5 separate regions of the Homo sapiens genome follow, and all the other regions are linked to region 1. The links are contacts of gene promoters, found by promoter capture Hi-C in blood cells and fetal thymus (Javierre and others, 2016). All regions are on one chromosome and are shown on one strand. The core of a region is centred on a gene start or on the middle of the fragment in contact, and the rest is flanking DNA. Distances in the headings are between cores, read along the strand shown. Region 1 holds the start of TNC (tenascin C). Region 2 overlaps TEX48 (testis expressed 48). Region 3 holds the start of LOC105376231 (a long non-coding RNA gene). Region 4 has its middle 51 kb from the start of TEX48. Region 5 has its middle 42 kb from the start of TNFSF15.

Evidence for each region. The method cuts DNA at HindIII sites, captures the fragments that hold promoters and counts their contacts. A CHiCAGO score of 5 or more calls a contact.
Region 2: a fragment that was not itself captured here is called in contact with the fragment with the promoter of TNC in region 1 in 2 of 17 cell types (M1 macrophages and M0 macrophages); the score reaches 9.3 in M1 macrophages.
Region 3: a fragment that was not itself captured here is called in contact with the fragment with the promoter of TNC in region 1 in 2 of 17 cell types (M1 macrophages and M0 macrophages); the score reaches 6.7 in M1 macrophages.
Region 4: a fragment that was not itself captured here is called in contact with the fragment with the promoter of TNC in region 1 in 2 of 17 cell types (M0 macrophages and M1 macrophages); the score reaches 6.4 in M0 macrophages.
Region 5: a contact is called between a fragment that was not itself captured here and the fragment with the promoter of TNC in region 1, in 1 of 17 cell types (M1 macrophages). The highest score is 5.0, in M1 macrophages.

What each region holds. Positions count from the first base shown.
Region 1 is chr9:115,116,746-115,119,605 of GRCh38, reverse strand. It overlaps TNC (tenascin C), which reads left to right and starts at 1,449. Exons shown (of 28, transcript NM_002160.4): 1 at 1,449-1,624. All of the region lies in intron 2 of LOC124902255 (a long non-coding RNA gene), which reads right to left. LOC101928748 (a long non-coding RNA gene) reads left to right here. Exons shown (of 6, transcript NR_110950.1): 6 at 1-67. RefSeq lists an enhancer at 351-1,170. The HindIII fragment of the contact is 3,799 bases long and covers 1-2,860 here.
Region 2 is chr9:114,666,031-114,668,890 of GRCh38, reverse strand. TEX48 (testis expressed 48) reads left to right here. Exons shown (of 5, transcript NM_001199233.2): 4 at 554-685; 5 at 2,145-2,457. The coding sequence ends at 2,248. Among named protein-coding and RNA genes, the nearest start is that of TEX53, 9.7 kb to the right of the region's middle. The HindIII fragment of the contact is 787 bases long and covers 951-1,737 here.
Region 3 is chr9:114,695,503-114,698,362 of GRCh38, reverse strand. It overlaps LOC105376231 (a long non-coding RNA gene), which reads right to left and starts at 2,513. Exons shown (of 2, transcript XR_007061745.1): 1 at 1-2,513. RefSeq lists enhancers at 58-257, 1,243-1,362, 1,373-1,422. The HindIII fragment of the contact is 3,680 bases long and covers 1-2,860 here.
Region 4 is chr9:114,732,153-114,735,012 of GRCh38, reverse strand. No RefSeq gene overlaps it. Among named protein-coding and RNA genes, the nearest start is that of TEX48, 51 kb to the right of the region's middle. The HindIII fragment of the contact is 6,712 bases long and covers 1-2,860 here.
Region 5 is chr9:114,763,011-114,765,870 of GRCh38, reverse strand. No RefSeq gene overlaps it. Among named protein-coding and RNA genes, the nearest start is that of TNFSF15, 42 kb to the left of the region's middle. The HindIII fragment of the contact is 1,443 bases long and covers 725-2,167 here.

The sequences.
Region 1 (2,860 bases), core at 200-2,699:
TTTTAAAAATCAAAGATCTCTCCTAATTAGCTTTATGGAGCAAATAAATATATTTTCCATATTCAAATATGGCTGTGATTTCTACACAAATGGTGTTAACAATCTAATACAGCATAAAACATTGTTTAAATATCATCATACCCTATTCCTAAACAGTAACGTGTAATAGATCTCTGGAGCCCAGTGTTGTAATATAAACACTTCCCAGGTGTATTCCCTTGGTAAAGTTTCATTACTTCTCTAAACGTCAGTTTTCTTGTGTAAAAAAGAGACACTTGTGTCTATCCTACTTACTGGTTACAAGGATATAATAAAAATAGTGAACAAAAATAGTGTTCATAAAGTACCCTGCACAGCACCTGATTATAGACTTAATAAGGGAGGGCTCAATGGTAGTTGCGTTTTGAATTACATTTAATGCTTCATTTTACTTCACTGTCACAAACTACTATGCTCTGCGGCAGGCTCAGAAGTCTCTAGGCACGGGTGAAGTGCTACTTCTCCACTCCCTTAAATGCCCCTGTATGCCCTGAGGATACTCAATGCATGCTAACCACCAAACGAACGGATGACTCAGAGCTTGGAGGAAATCCACGGCAGGCTGGAAAGCAAAGGCGCAGCTTATGGCTCAAGGATTAGGTTGTTACCTTTTTAAATTATTGCTTTTCTTTAAAGAAAGGGCTGTGGGGGACGCCTTTCAGCACTAAGAGAAAACCTCAGAAATCCTTCCCCCTGGAGACCCAGCTGAGAAGACCACACCAGGCACAGGGCATGAACAATGTCAAAAAGCTACTGCCCTGCAGGACACTGGGGCTGGAACAAAGATGCCTCCCAGCAGCTGGGCAAGGCTGGCTCCCACACAAGAAAAGCAGGGCTGATGTGAGCGTCCCGCACGATCCCCACCTGCTGAGACCTAATCCTGGGTTATCTCTCCGCTGGCCCAGAGAAACCTGAAACCCCCCAGGCTTTTGAAGGGCTTTATCTCCTCTTTCCAGGAACTGGGCTCAGTCCCTGTACTCGCTCCGAGGTGCCACTGAGCAGCTGCTGCCCAGAGCCCAGGCGAGCCCTGGTCCCATTTCCAGCTTGACCAAGTACAAGAGGGGAGCCAGGGCTGCGGATCCTACTCCCTCTTGCTCCCCAGGCATCCGTCTCACAATTAGAAAACCCGTGTGGGGAGCAAAGCAAAAATCACATTTCACTAACAGCTACTCGGGGTCGGGGGCGGGCAGGCGGGAATTCCTACTTTCGCCATAAATTGTATGCAAATGGGTTCCTTCCCTGGCCGAGAGCCAGGAGTGAGTGCGTCTTTCATGAGCTAACCCTGTTCCGCTGGGAGGGCTGTTCCTTTAATTCGCCAACTGAAAAAGTGGGAAAGGATGTCTGGAGGCGAGGCGTCCCATTACAGAGGAAGGAGCTCGCTATATAAGCCAGCCAAAGTTGGCTGCACCGGCCACAGCCTGCCTACTGTCACCCGCCTCTCCCGCGCGCAGATACACGCCCCCGCCTCCGTGGGCACAAAGGCAGCGCTGCTGGGGAACTCGGGGGAACGCGCACGTGGGAACCGCCGCAGCTCCACACTCCAGGTACTTCTTCCAAGGACCTAGGTCTCTCGCCCATCGGAAAGGTAAGTCTGTTTTGCCCTCATCACTAGAGATCCTTATGATGTAAGGATTGCATTCCTGGTACCAAATGAGTTGTGATTTTATATTATAATTACAAAACATATGGGGTTTTTTTTTCCACCGCTGGAAAAAAAAGGAGTGTGTATTGGTTATATCAGATGCACCTTGACTTTTCTGGTCTTGTAATTTTGTTTGTTTTAACTTTATGAATAGTCAGACTTGGAAGGAACTTTTCGTAAAGTTGTTATCTTCTGCTGTTCTGCAGAGGAAAAGTAAAAATTTTCTCTTCAACTGCTCTCCTACTTCTAGTCTGGCTGATTCACCTGTATATATCTTTTATTTTGAGGGTTAGGGCAGTAGAGTTTTAAGGCAGACTTTGCTCATAGCCTGCCCCTGGGATGGGTTAGAGGGAGTTTGATAGAGGAGTGCAGGGAGAATATAAAAGTTTATATCTAAACAGCACTTACATAAAGTTTACAAAGAGTTTTGTACCCATTCCCTCATTTGGTCCTCAAAATATTCACCCTGGAAATGAGAGCTGGGGGACAGAAGAGAGGAGGTGGCTCCTGGGCCAGATGAATAACTGACAGGCAGCTAGAGAGTGGTGGAGAACAGCTTTACTGGGGTGCCTAGAGCCAGCAGCGTCCCACATGTCTCTAGAATCACCTCCTCCTCCTCACCTCTCATCACAGAAAGATCTGAGCAACAACATCCCCCAGGTATGGGAACCCTGCTGCCCCTGGTGTACTTTGGAAAGAACACAGGGGTTCTTCTCACCCATCAGTGTTGTAAGAGGAATAAGAGCTTAGGTTTGAAGCCAGAGGTGTTTGGTATTCTCCCCACCACCATACATATGACCCTGAGAAAGATACATCACTTCCTTAATCCTCAGTTTTCACATCTCTAAAATGGGGACAATAGCGTCTGCTGTCGTTTTGAGGAGAAAATGAGGTATAGAAAGATCAGCAATGACTGCTTAATAACTGGAAGTTTGGATAATCATTGTCATTGCCAAAAACTGCCATCACTCTGGAAGTTAAAAGAGGCATTGAGCCAGTCTTGGATTGTTTCTTGTGTGTTGTTCCTCAGCCCGCCCCCAGCCCCCGCTTTTTATCTCACCCAATCTGAGGGTGTCTCACTAGGCTGGCAGGTCTGAGACTTGGCTGTATTTTACAAGCAGGAGGTTGTGTTGGCACAGGTTGGAGAAAAGGTAGTAGCCCGGGGCTGGAAGTTAATGT
Region 2 (2,860 bases), core at 95-2,594, 450 kb after region 1:
CACTCCAGCCTGGGCAACAGAGCAGATCCCTGTCTCAAAAAATAAATAAATAGATAAGTAAAATTCATCCATAATACATAGGATATGATGGACTATGTAAAATATGCATAGGAAAAGACTGGAACTGTGATAATAACTTGGGGAAGAGATGTTTGGGGCACTTTTTCCTCCCTTATACTATTCAATATTTCCTAACTTTTCTATAAAGCGTATGCATTACATTTATAAATGGAAAAAAGTTAATGTTTTAAAAAGAATACATACTTTGCCCTGAATTGATCATTACACATTCTATGCATGTAACAAAATTTCATATGTAGCCCATAAATACATACAAATACAATGTATTATTTTAAAATACACACTTTGAATCCAGCACCTGCTTGTGAGGGGAAGCCCTCAGAGGACAGGAGGTGGTAGTTTCAGGTACACCCCCACCCCATAATAACCCCCACTTGCCTGTGTGCGCTGCTTCAGAGCTTGCAAAACATCTTCACTTCCGTGATCTCACCTAAGCCTCCCCCACGTGACCCTGTGGAATTCTCATTGCCAGATTTGCTGCTTCAGAAGGATGAGCTTGACAGACAAAATCCCAAGCGCATTAACGCAGTCTCCCATTTGCCTTCGAGAACACCCCTGATCCAGACAAAAAAGAGCACTTCCTCCAGCAGCAGTGAGTTTGAGGGTGAGTCCCAAATTGGGGTCCTAACACTGACCAGAAACTCCCAGACAGGGAGCCTGGTCCTAATAACCAGACCCCATTGATACTTCAGCTAAGCGAGATGGGGAGATGGAATTGCTCCCATCAAGCAGCCCCAGTCATATTCCAGAGCACACTGGGGAGACCCTAGAGGCTAAGACCTGACTCCACTATCTTCCAAGCTAGGAAGTGCATGAGAAGGAGCAGGTCTGGGGGGAAGGGCAAACATCCATGCTTTCCTTTCAAAGCTTTGTGGCATCATCTTTTTTTTTTTTTTTTTTTTTTGAGATGGAGTCTCCCTCTGTTGTCTAGGCTTGAGTGCAGTGGTGCAGTCTCCAATCTCAGCTCACTGCAACTTCCACCTCCCAGGTTCAAGTGATTCTCCTGTCTCAGCTTCCTGAGTAGCTGAGATTACAGGCGCCCACCAACATGCCTGGTTAATTTTTGTATTCTTAGTAGAAAAAGGGTTTCACCATGTTGGCCAGGCTGGTCACGAACTCCTGACCTCAAGTGATCCACCTACCTTGGCCTCCCAAAGTGCTGGGATTACAGGTGTAACCACCGCACCTGGCGGCATCATCTTACACGTGTATTTTTCATATGCTTACTTGATGTCTACTTTGGCCACTAGACAGTAAGTGCCAGGAGGGCAGGGGCCCACATCAGTTTTATTCCCTGTTATGCCCCCAGATCCAGCCAGGTGCATGGCAAGTAAACAATGCCAGAAAACACTTGTGGATTGAGTGTAGTTCAACTGGGGGTGAAATGCCTCTGGGTCACAGAAGAACAGATGCCCAATCCCAGGACAGTGGCACAGCCCAGGAAGAAGAAATGCAGCCACATTGCTGGGCGCCAGTTCTATCCCCAGGTGGTCTCACATAACTCACAACCACCCCAGGAGTCCTGTTGAGAACTAAGGATTATCCAACCCAGTCATTTTGAATTCCCCTAACAACTAAACCCCCTTGAAAACAGCATTTCACAGAGTCCATTTTCTATAAAAGATCAAAGAGGAACAGCTCTGCTTGAATCAAGCTTGAGAAGGTAGGAACCCCACTAGCTCGCCCACTCCTTCCTTCTGCCCTTCCCACCCCCCCATAGGGGTGAGGCTCACAGAGGGAAAGGGACTTCCCACGAGTGCACTAGGGAATGACGTAAGTGTCAGAGCCAGGATGGGCCCAAGTCTCCTACCTTCCATATCACTGTGCTTTGCAAGACAGCCTACTGTCACTGAAGCCACCAACGTAACACAATGCAAAATACACTGCAAGAAACTCCTCCTATCACAAAAGACTTCCAAGTCCTAGACTAGGGTCTGCCTTGGGTCCCTTGAGATTCAAGAAGCTGAGGAATGATCAGCAATGGATACAAACAACCAAAACAGTTCATCAAAGCCCAATTCAAAGGCCTTCACCCAGCATAATTTTTTCCTTTCTTCTTTCAGATCTGAATGCATATGCTTCCCAAAGAAATTTTTACAAGAGAAACTTAAACCGCTACTGCCAGGAGCACTGGCCATTCCAGCCATGCCTCACTGGGAGGCCCTGAGCATTCTAGCCGGCGGCTGCACAGCTGCTGGGGCATCTCCATGAGGAAGAGGGCGGTGGACAGGAGTCATGAAGACTAATTCGGAAACTCCCCTGAAGGAGGAGAAGACATCTGAGCCATCCTTGTGCCACCAAGCAAGAGTCACTCCAGCTCCTAAAAAGCCACCATGGGAAGAGCTGCCTCCAATTAAAGTTCTTGATTGCACCAGAGGATGTGTCCTTCTCTTTTCCTTTCCCCCTTACCAACTAATGTCTTATTATTTTTAAATATATTGTCACATCTAACTAAGCTTAAAAAATTTAGCCTATTGGCTGGGCGCAGTGGCTCACGCCTGTAATCCCAACACTTTGGGAGACCGAGGCAGGTGGATCACATGAGGTCATAAGTTCAAGACCAGCCTGGCCAATGCGGTGAAACCCCATCTGTGCTAAAAATAAAAAAATCTGCCAGGTGTGGTGGCGTGCTCCTGTAATCTCAGCTACTAGGGAGGCTGAGGCAGGAGAATCACTTGAACCCAGGAGGCAGAGGTTGCAATGAGCTGAGATCTCGCCGCTGCACTCCAGCCTGGGTAACAGAGTGAGACTCCGTGAAAGAAAGAAAGGAAGGGAAGGG
Region 3 (2,860 bases), core at 237-2,736, 420 kb after region 1:
CTCATTAATTTGTGAGAGAACTAGTAGGACGTCACATCTAGTTGCAAGGATAATTCCAAGAACCACATATACACAAGCAAGAAATACTGAAATGAATAAAGATGCAAAACTGGTTTATTCCACAGGAGATGTGGTAAGACAATTGTATTACCACCAGAAAATGTATTTGCATATCTACGGACAAGAACCATTTGCATCACTCTCAGTCATCTACAACTTACAGTTCTGAAACAGTTCAAAGGCAACGAAAGGCCCAGAGGCCCCATAGAAACACCTAGTTTTCTGATGAAGACACCCAGTCATCTTTTCGGTCCATTTCAAAGTCATTCACCATTTTTCCTACAATATCAAGATCTTATCCCAATCACCTTATGTCCTCACTCTCAGTTGTCCATGGGAGCATGGGAATGGACAGAACTTTCCAGGAAGTGATATGGCCTATCCTGGAGCTAGGGAAAATGAAAGTGAGCAGTAAGAAGTGGGCATGAAATATAGAATCCTTGAGCACAAAAAGACCTCATACCAAAGACTTTATTTTACAGAAGCAGAAATAGACCAGAGAGGAAAGGGGATTTTCCTAAAGACACAGAGCAGAGTGGACATGACACCTCCCCTTCTATAGCACACACTTTTTAAGGCAGAGGGGCTGAAAAATGGAGGGTACCAAGGGATTACTTATTCTCTCTGGTCTAGGGAGAGTGACTACCAGAAACCTCTCCCCTAAGATGTGTTCTTTACCTTCCTTGAGCCACATCTACAAAACAGGGGTGGTACTCACACCTCCCTCACTGTGCATTGTCAGGTTTAAATGGGACAGGTTTAGATAGAATGCCTATCCCATAGCAGGTGCTTCATAGACATCATTTTCTCTCACCCTCCTGAGTAGCTGTGTGACCCCAAAGAAGAGACAGGGGTCATTCTGCTTTCACTTGGCCGGGGGTTACAATCATACAAAAAAGACTGTGGCTTCTTACCCACGATGAGTCATATGCTGCTTTCCATCTCAGTTTCAATTCATCTGGAGACAATTCTGATGATTTCAGACCCCGGGCTCTTTCAGCCCCAAGGCCTCAGGCCACTACCACATTTCCTCTGCCAAGCTGCCCCCTTATAACAAATTTGAAGAAAACACAGAAAAAGAGGAGAAGACAAAAAAAAATTAAGTATAAAAGTTTCCCCCCCATTCTCCAGGAGTCAGGTGGTGGGTGGGTGGGTGGAGACATGGCCAGGCCATGGTGGGAAGAGCCCCAGTGAATTATACCCTTGGTGCAGGGAACCCACAAACAGAGACACTGGCCTTGTTTCCCATCACTGCGAAGCCATCATGACCTTCAAACAGCTTGCAGGGCGGGGCCCTTCACATCTTCTGAGTCCTGATATGACTGAGCATCCATTATATAACCATGTTGTGAATAACTTGGTCTCAGTCCTCGACCACAATCTCAATTTCGGGGCATCCCTGATCTCTCTCTGCAGAGAGATTCAGAAGAGGCCCCAGAGATAGTAAAAGTTGGGGGATGGTGGGAGTTGTTTTTTGCTGTTGTCTTATTCCGATTCACACCACCATGTGATAATGGGACCTTTCCCTTTCTCTGGGAGTGAACCTTGCAAAACCACCCAAAGTCAGAGCAGGAAGGGACCCCCAAAGCTCCTGGGATTTAGTTCTCCACCTTCTACCGGGTGAAATGGCAAACCTAATAAAGGCAAAATCCTGGCTCTTCCAGAACTGATAAAAATGTAGACCCTGCCAGGCACAGTGGCTCACACCTATAATCCCAACACTTTGGGAGGCCGACGTGGGTGGATCATCTGAGGTCAGGAGTTCGAGACCAGCCTCACCAACACGGCGAAACACTGTCTCTACTAAAAATCCCAAATTTAGCCAGGTGTGGTGGTACACGCCTGTAATCCCAACTACTCAGGAGGCTGAGGCAGGAGAATGGCGTGAACCCGGGAAGTGGAGCTTGCAGTGAGCCGAGATTGCACCACTGCACTCCAGCCTGGGTGACAGAGCGAGACTCCATCTCTAAATAAATAAATAAATAAAATCTTCAATGGAACCTTTGTGAAGCTCAACACATCTTCAATTAACATGCTGAGGATTGTAGAACCATATATTGCATGTGGGTAGCCAAATCTGAAGTCAGTAAATGAACTAATCTGTAAGTGTGGTTATGGCAAAATCAATAAGAAGCGAATTGCTTTGACAGGTAACACTTTGATTGCTCAATCTCTTGGTAAATATGGTATCATCTGCACGGAAGATCTGATTCATGAGATCTATACTGTTGGAAAATGCTTCAAACAAGCAAGTAACTTCCTGTGGCCCTCCAAACCATCCTCTCCAGAAGGTGGAATGAAGAAAAAGACCACCCATTTTGTAGAAGGTGGAAATGCTGACAACAGGGGGGACCAGATCAACAGCCTTCTTAGAAGAATAAATGAAGATGTCTACCATGATTATTTTTCTAATCTGGTCAGTTAATAAACAGTACCTGCTCTTGAATTGAAAAAAAAAAAAAAAGGAAAACTCAATTATCAACCTTAGTTTTATCTCCTTTAAAATTTGTATCTTATTTAAAAAATATATTATCAGAAGCTCAAAGAACCATGAAGCCTGGGTTAAAATGCAGTAAGCCGGGATCATGCCACTGCACTCCAGAGCCTGGGCAACAGAGCGAGACTCTGTCTCAAAAAAAAAAAAAAAAAAAAAAAAAAATGAATTCTTAAAACTTTTTCTGGCTGAGCACAGTGGCTAACACCTGTAATCCCAGCACTTTGGGAGGCTGAGGTGGGTGGATCACTTGAGGTCAGGAGTTCAAGACCAGCCTGATCAACATGGTAAAACCCTGTCTCTATT
Region 4 (2,860 bases), core at 248-2,747, 380 kb after region 1:
TATGCAATGCAACGCTGTGCAGTGAAGACAATGAAATTATAGCTCCAAGCAGCATGGATAAATCCTAGAAGCATAATATTGAATGAAAAGAAGTAACTCTTGGAGTACTACATGTAAGTGTGATACCACTTTTAGAAAGTTAAAACACAAACGATCCTAAATTAGATCATGTTTAGGGGGTACATAGAGAAGTACTGAAGCCCTATTGTTAAAAAAAACAAAGAAGGCCAGGCGTGGTGGCTCACACCTGTAATCCCAGCACTTTGGGGGACCAAGGTGGGCGGATCACCTGAGGTCAGGAGTTTGAGACCAGCCTGGCCAACATGGCAAAACCCCGTCTCTACTAAAAATACAAAAATGAGCCGGGCGTGGTGGCACGCCTCTAGTCCCAGCTACTTGGGAGGCTGAGACAGGAGAATCACTTGAACCCAGCAGGTGGAGGTTGCAGTGAGCCAAGATCACGTCACTGCACTCCAGCCTGGACAACAAGAGCGAAACTGTCTCAAAAAAAAAAAAAAAAAAAAGAAAGAAATGATGTTTTTTAATTTCAGGGTAGTACTTACTGCTGAAAGACGGGTGAAGGAATGGGATTAGGAGCAGCACGTAGATCAATTCAATAGTATTAGAAAAGTTCCCTGTGCGCGGTAGGTTTATCCATTTAAATGTGATTCTTCATAATTTAAAGTAGTCCTAGGGGATACATTCCAAGAACCCCAGTGGATGCCCGAAACTACAGACAGTACCAAACCCTATATGTACTATGGTATGGCTTTTTCAAGACATACACCCCTAGGATGTTTAATTTATAAATTAGGCACAGTCAGAGATTAACAACTAATAATGAAATAGAACAATTATAACAATATGCCAGCATCGCTACTCTTGCATTTTGAAAATGAGGGTCACTTGAATACCCACACTGTAATACCAAGACAGGTTTTCAGATAACTGAAACAGATACTAAATGACTAATGGCCAGGGAGCGTATACAGGGTGGATATGGTGGGATGAGTCATGTCCTAGGTGGAACAGAGAAGGATGGCACAAGTTTTCATCACTCAGGGTGACGCACGGTCTAAAACTTAGGAATTGTTTATTTCTGGAATTTTCCATTCAATATTTTCAGACTGCAGTAGACTGCAGGTAACTGAACTTTTTATTTTATTTTATTTTATTTTATTTTTTGAAACGGAGTCTCGCTGTGTCGCCCAGGCTGGAGCGCAGTGGCGTGATCTCGGCTCACTGTAAGCTCTGCCTCCCGGGTTCACGCCATTCTCCTGCCTCAGCCTCCCGAGTAGCTGGGACTACCTGAGTAGCTGGCACCCACCACCACGCACAGCTAATTTTTTTTTGTATTTGTTTTAGTAGAGACGGGGTTTCACCGTGTTAGCCAGGATGGTCTCGATCTCCTGACCTCGTGATCCACCCACCTAGGCCTCCCAAAGTGCTGGGATTACAGGCGTGAGCCACCGTGCCCGGCAGGTAACTGAACTTTTGAAAAGCAAGACTGAGGACAAGGAGGAACCACAGTACTATATATCTACACATATAGATATGCACATGCATACATATACATAAACTATAATTCCATAATATATGTAATAATGTCACAGTGATAATGTAACTATCATTATGTAACATTATCTTATATATAAAAATATTACATAACATTTTTAAAATCCAAGCTATTCAATGTTGAACTAGGAATTTGATTTCCTTGCTCCTGACCCTGTACTGTTATTGTCTTAAGAATTTATTTTCCCCTGCTTTTCTTGAGCTGTATGGAATTTTTTTCTTATGTCTATTACTTACTTATTTACTAATTTAAAAAGAAATACATTAACGACCTAAGATTAAAGGCTATAAACTTAATTACAGGAATAAAGCAATCCACAAAGGCTACTCTGGGTTCATTCTTCAAAAGTCACATGACAGAGGGTGAAGATTATAATAGCTCTGGACACCAGGGATGATGCATCAATACTCAGAAGGTGTGGCTTGAGCTAACATCCATGCCAAGGCTATTACGACTAGTATATTTCCACAGGCCAAGACTGAACAGGTTTGAATTCCCAAAGAGTTCAATGCATTCTCCTGTGTTATAAGCAGATCAAAGAATAAAATCACTGTTTTGCTGCTCAGGCTGCCGTAACAAAGTGCCACAGACTGGGTGGATTAAACAACAGAAATTTATTTTCTGACAGTTTTGGAGACTGGAAGTCCAAGAACAAGGTGTCAGAAGGCCTCTCTCCTTGACTTGCAGATGATCAGTTTCTCACCGTGTCTTCACATGGTCTATGTGAGTCTAAACCCTAATTTCCTCTTCTTAGAAGGACAACAATTATATTGGACTACAGCCCATCCCAATGACCTTATTTAATCTTAATTACCTCTTTAAAGACTTTAATCTCTAAATATAGTTACATTCTGAAGTACTGGGGGTTAGGATTTCAACATGAATTTTGGAGTACACAATTCAACCCCTAACAGTCACCAAGGAAGCCCTCCCTGGAAAATGATAGGCCTGCTTATATTTCAAATTAGACCAGCATTGTCTAAGAACATTTTGCATAATAATGAAATTGTTTTATATCTACACCATCCAATTGGGAGATGTTGGATATGTCTATGACCTTGATTGTGATGACAGCACAGGTGTGTGCCTTTTGCCCGAACGCAACAAATTGTGCACATCTGTATGTGCAGGTCTTATATGCCAATTACATCTCAACAATGTTATCTTTAAAAAAAGAAAGACAAATGTTTCCTGACTGCACTTACATGAGGTATCTAAAATAGTCAACTCCTAGAATCAGAGTGGAATGGTGGTTTCCAAGGGGCCGAGGGAAGGGAGAAATTG
Region 5 (2,860 bases), core at 197-2,696, 350 kb after region 1:
GAGAGGTCAGTGCGGCTGGATATGGGAGCGGGAGAGGAGTGAAGAGGGGAGAACAGTGGAGGAGTAGGGAGATGAGCAGGGGCCCTCATAGGCCATGACAGGGACTTTGGAGTATGAGCCTGCAAGTCCCCATCTTTGGAGATAACCTACAAGGAGCAAGAAGCCCAGCCTGGCAGGATAGGTCTAGAATTTTTCACATAAACTGGAACAAAACTGAGACTCTAAAAGAGGCAATATTTCAGTCCTTACAGGAGATGAAATCTACAAGGTCTAGGGCTTGGAAATTCTAAAACCATACACTGATATAAATTCAGACCATCTGAGAAATGAGAGAGGCTGTTTTCTAATTGATTATGGCTAGGGATGTATGAGTTTATCTCAAATCCAAGACACAATGTGAAAATGATGGGTCTGTCTGTGTACAAAAGGAAGGAACCAACCAGTCCTGTCTGATGCCCTATTTCTACAACAATTATCTTCTCATCTTAAGGCCCAGCCATACACTTTCTGGTCATATGACCTTAGACTTTGTAGTCCAAATGGGATAATATACCTACCTTCCATGCTTCTTATAAGTATAAATATGATCAGATACACAAAGCACTAGTCCAATGCCTTAGATATATAGTTGGTTCTCAACAAAGAAATAGTACAGTAGTAGCATCCCATTTCTGGCATAATTTCCTAATTTAATCGTTCTGTTGCATTTATTTAATTGCAAGCTTCATTCCCATCTAAGTAGGAATGTACATAATTAATAATGTATGGGCTTCATTTTCCAACTTGTAAACACCTACTGCAAAATAAGATCTAATTCAGTGGCAACTCTATCATGGCTGAACACCAGAAATACCCAGAGAGGGGCCAACATACCAATTTTCTACAGCCTGATAAATCAGAATCTCTAGGGTCAGGCTTGGATCTAGGTATTACTTTAATCCTTTCTCTGTGATATAATTTAGAATGTCTGATTTAGTCCTTCTGCAGGGGAATTAGTTGATCCAGCAAGCAGAAAATGATTATATATGAGTGATCCCATTCTCCTGCTTAAAACCTTCCAATGGCTTCCCATTGCAATTAGAATCAAATCCCCACTATGGGGATTTGCTGACTGTTGTCTGCCAGACTCTCACCTGCCTTTGGCCACTATGCCAACCCTCCTTCTCCAGGAATTCTCGGGGACTTTGCATTTGCTGTCTTCCTGCTTATGACGGCCTTTCCAGAATGTTGCATAGCTCACTCCTTCCCCTTAGTTGGTCTCAGTTCAGATTGTAACCAAGCCTGTGTTATAAAAATCTTTGTTCTTTTCTTCCTCCATGCGTGCTTGCTTGCACTTAGTCATTTTGGTAGAGAGTATTCACTAATAATTCATAAACCTCATATATTGACCCCGGGGGCTGCCCACAAGATTAATGAACTTGGTTTTCTTTCAAAGAACAATGATGCTTAGCTCATGCAGATCTCCTTGATGGCATCCAGAAGTTTGATCAGCCGAGGGATGCAAGCAGCTTTGATCATTGGGGATCTCGCCTTCCACATACCTACCTTACTCACAAAAACCCCCAGTTATGTTCAAAGACCAGTCAGATTTGAGAGTTTGCCTCTCCCATCCTCACACTTCGGCCAAATCAAATAAAACTTTCTCTGCTCCTAAGCACTGATGTATCAGTGTTTGGCTTACTACGCATCAGGTACTTGAACCTAGCTTTTAGGGTTCTACGGTTTTACATCAAAATGTCCCCTTATTGGAGAGGTCTTTCTCAACCCTAGCAAGCCTGATCCCCATCCTTTGTTCCTAGCACTTCCCAACTGCTACTTTGCCCATACACAGCATGTACCACTCTCCAAAATCATGCTGGGTTTTTTTTTATTATATACATATCTCCAGCCCCATTCCACTGGAATAATCTTGAGAAGGGAGACCTACCTATGTTGTTAATAGTATAGCCAATGCATACTGAATACTGTCTAGCACAAAATAAGCACTCCATAAATATTGACTGAATGAATAAACTGAATACAGTAACCTCATAAAATGACATCAAGCCTATAGGTCCTTTCTGTTGATCTGTTGCCACAGGAAAACTCCCCTCCTGAAATGCACTAGGGTATTTTAACAAGGGATTGAAAATCCTAATTACTCAGTTCCCACACACTTAATGAAGCTTCTTTAAGTTTACTCAATTAAGAAACTTTTTCTCTCAACCTTGCTGATATAATAGCCTTAAGCTCTGAGAAGTTAGGATCTTTTTTAAAGCATTTTGATAGCATTCTTTTTAGCTAAAACAATTTAATTCTGGGGATCCATATTTCTAATGATGTGTCACCAACTTTTGTATTTATGGCACAAGGTGATAAATCCCCTGCTCCTAGAACTTCAAAGCAATAATTAAACTGCGAGCCTCAGACTTTCTCCAAGACATATTGCACACGAATATTGCATAATGCAAATTCAGCAATTTGCTGAAGCACAGAAGACAGTGAGGTATAGAGCTGTGATTTCAACATTTTAAAATGTTCAAATTTAAGTGAATGTGAGATGTTTACATGAATGTGAGATGTTTACGTGAATGTGAGATGCTTTGAAAATGCACCAGTCAGTGGGCAAGATCTCAACCAACATGGCACGCAAAAAGAGAGAACACAAAATCAACAAGTCAGATCTCATGGGCGTCTGCTTATCGTTCCACCAGGGCAACAGGTGTGACACTACTGGACACTTGGAGGGTCTCACCCCATGCTTCTTTTAAGAATGTGAGCTGAAGCTGATTCCGTTATTTAAAGGTATAGGTTTGTGTTGTTTATACAGTATTCCCAGTAAACAGAGGACAAAGTTGCTCAACTAAAGAAACAGCAGGCC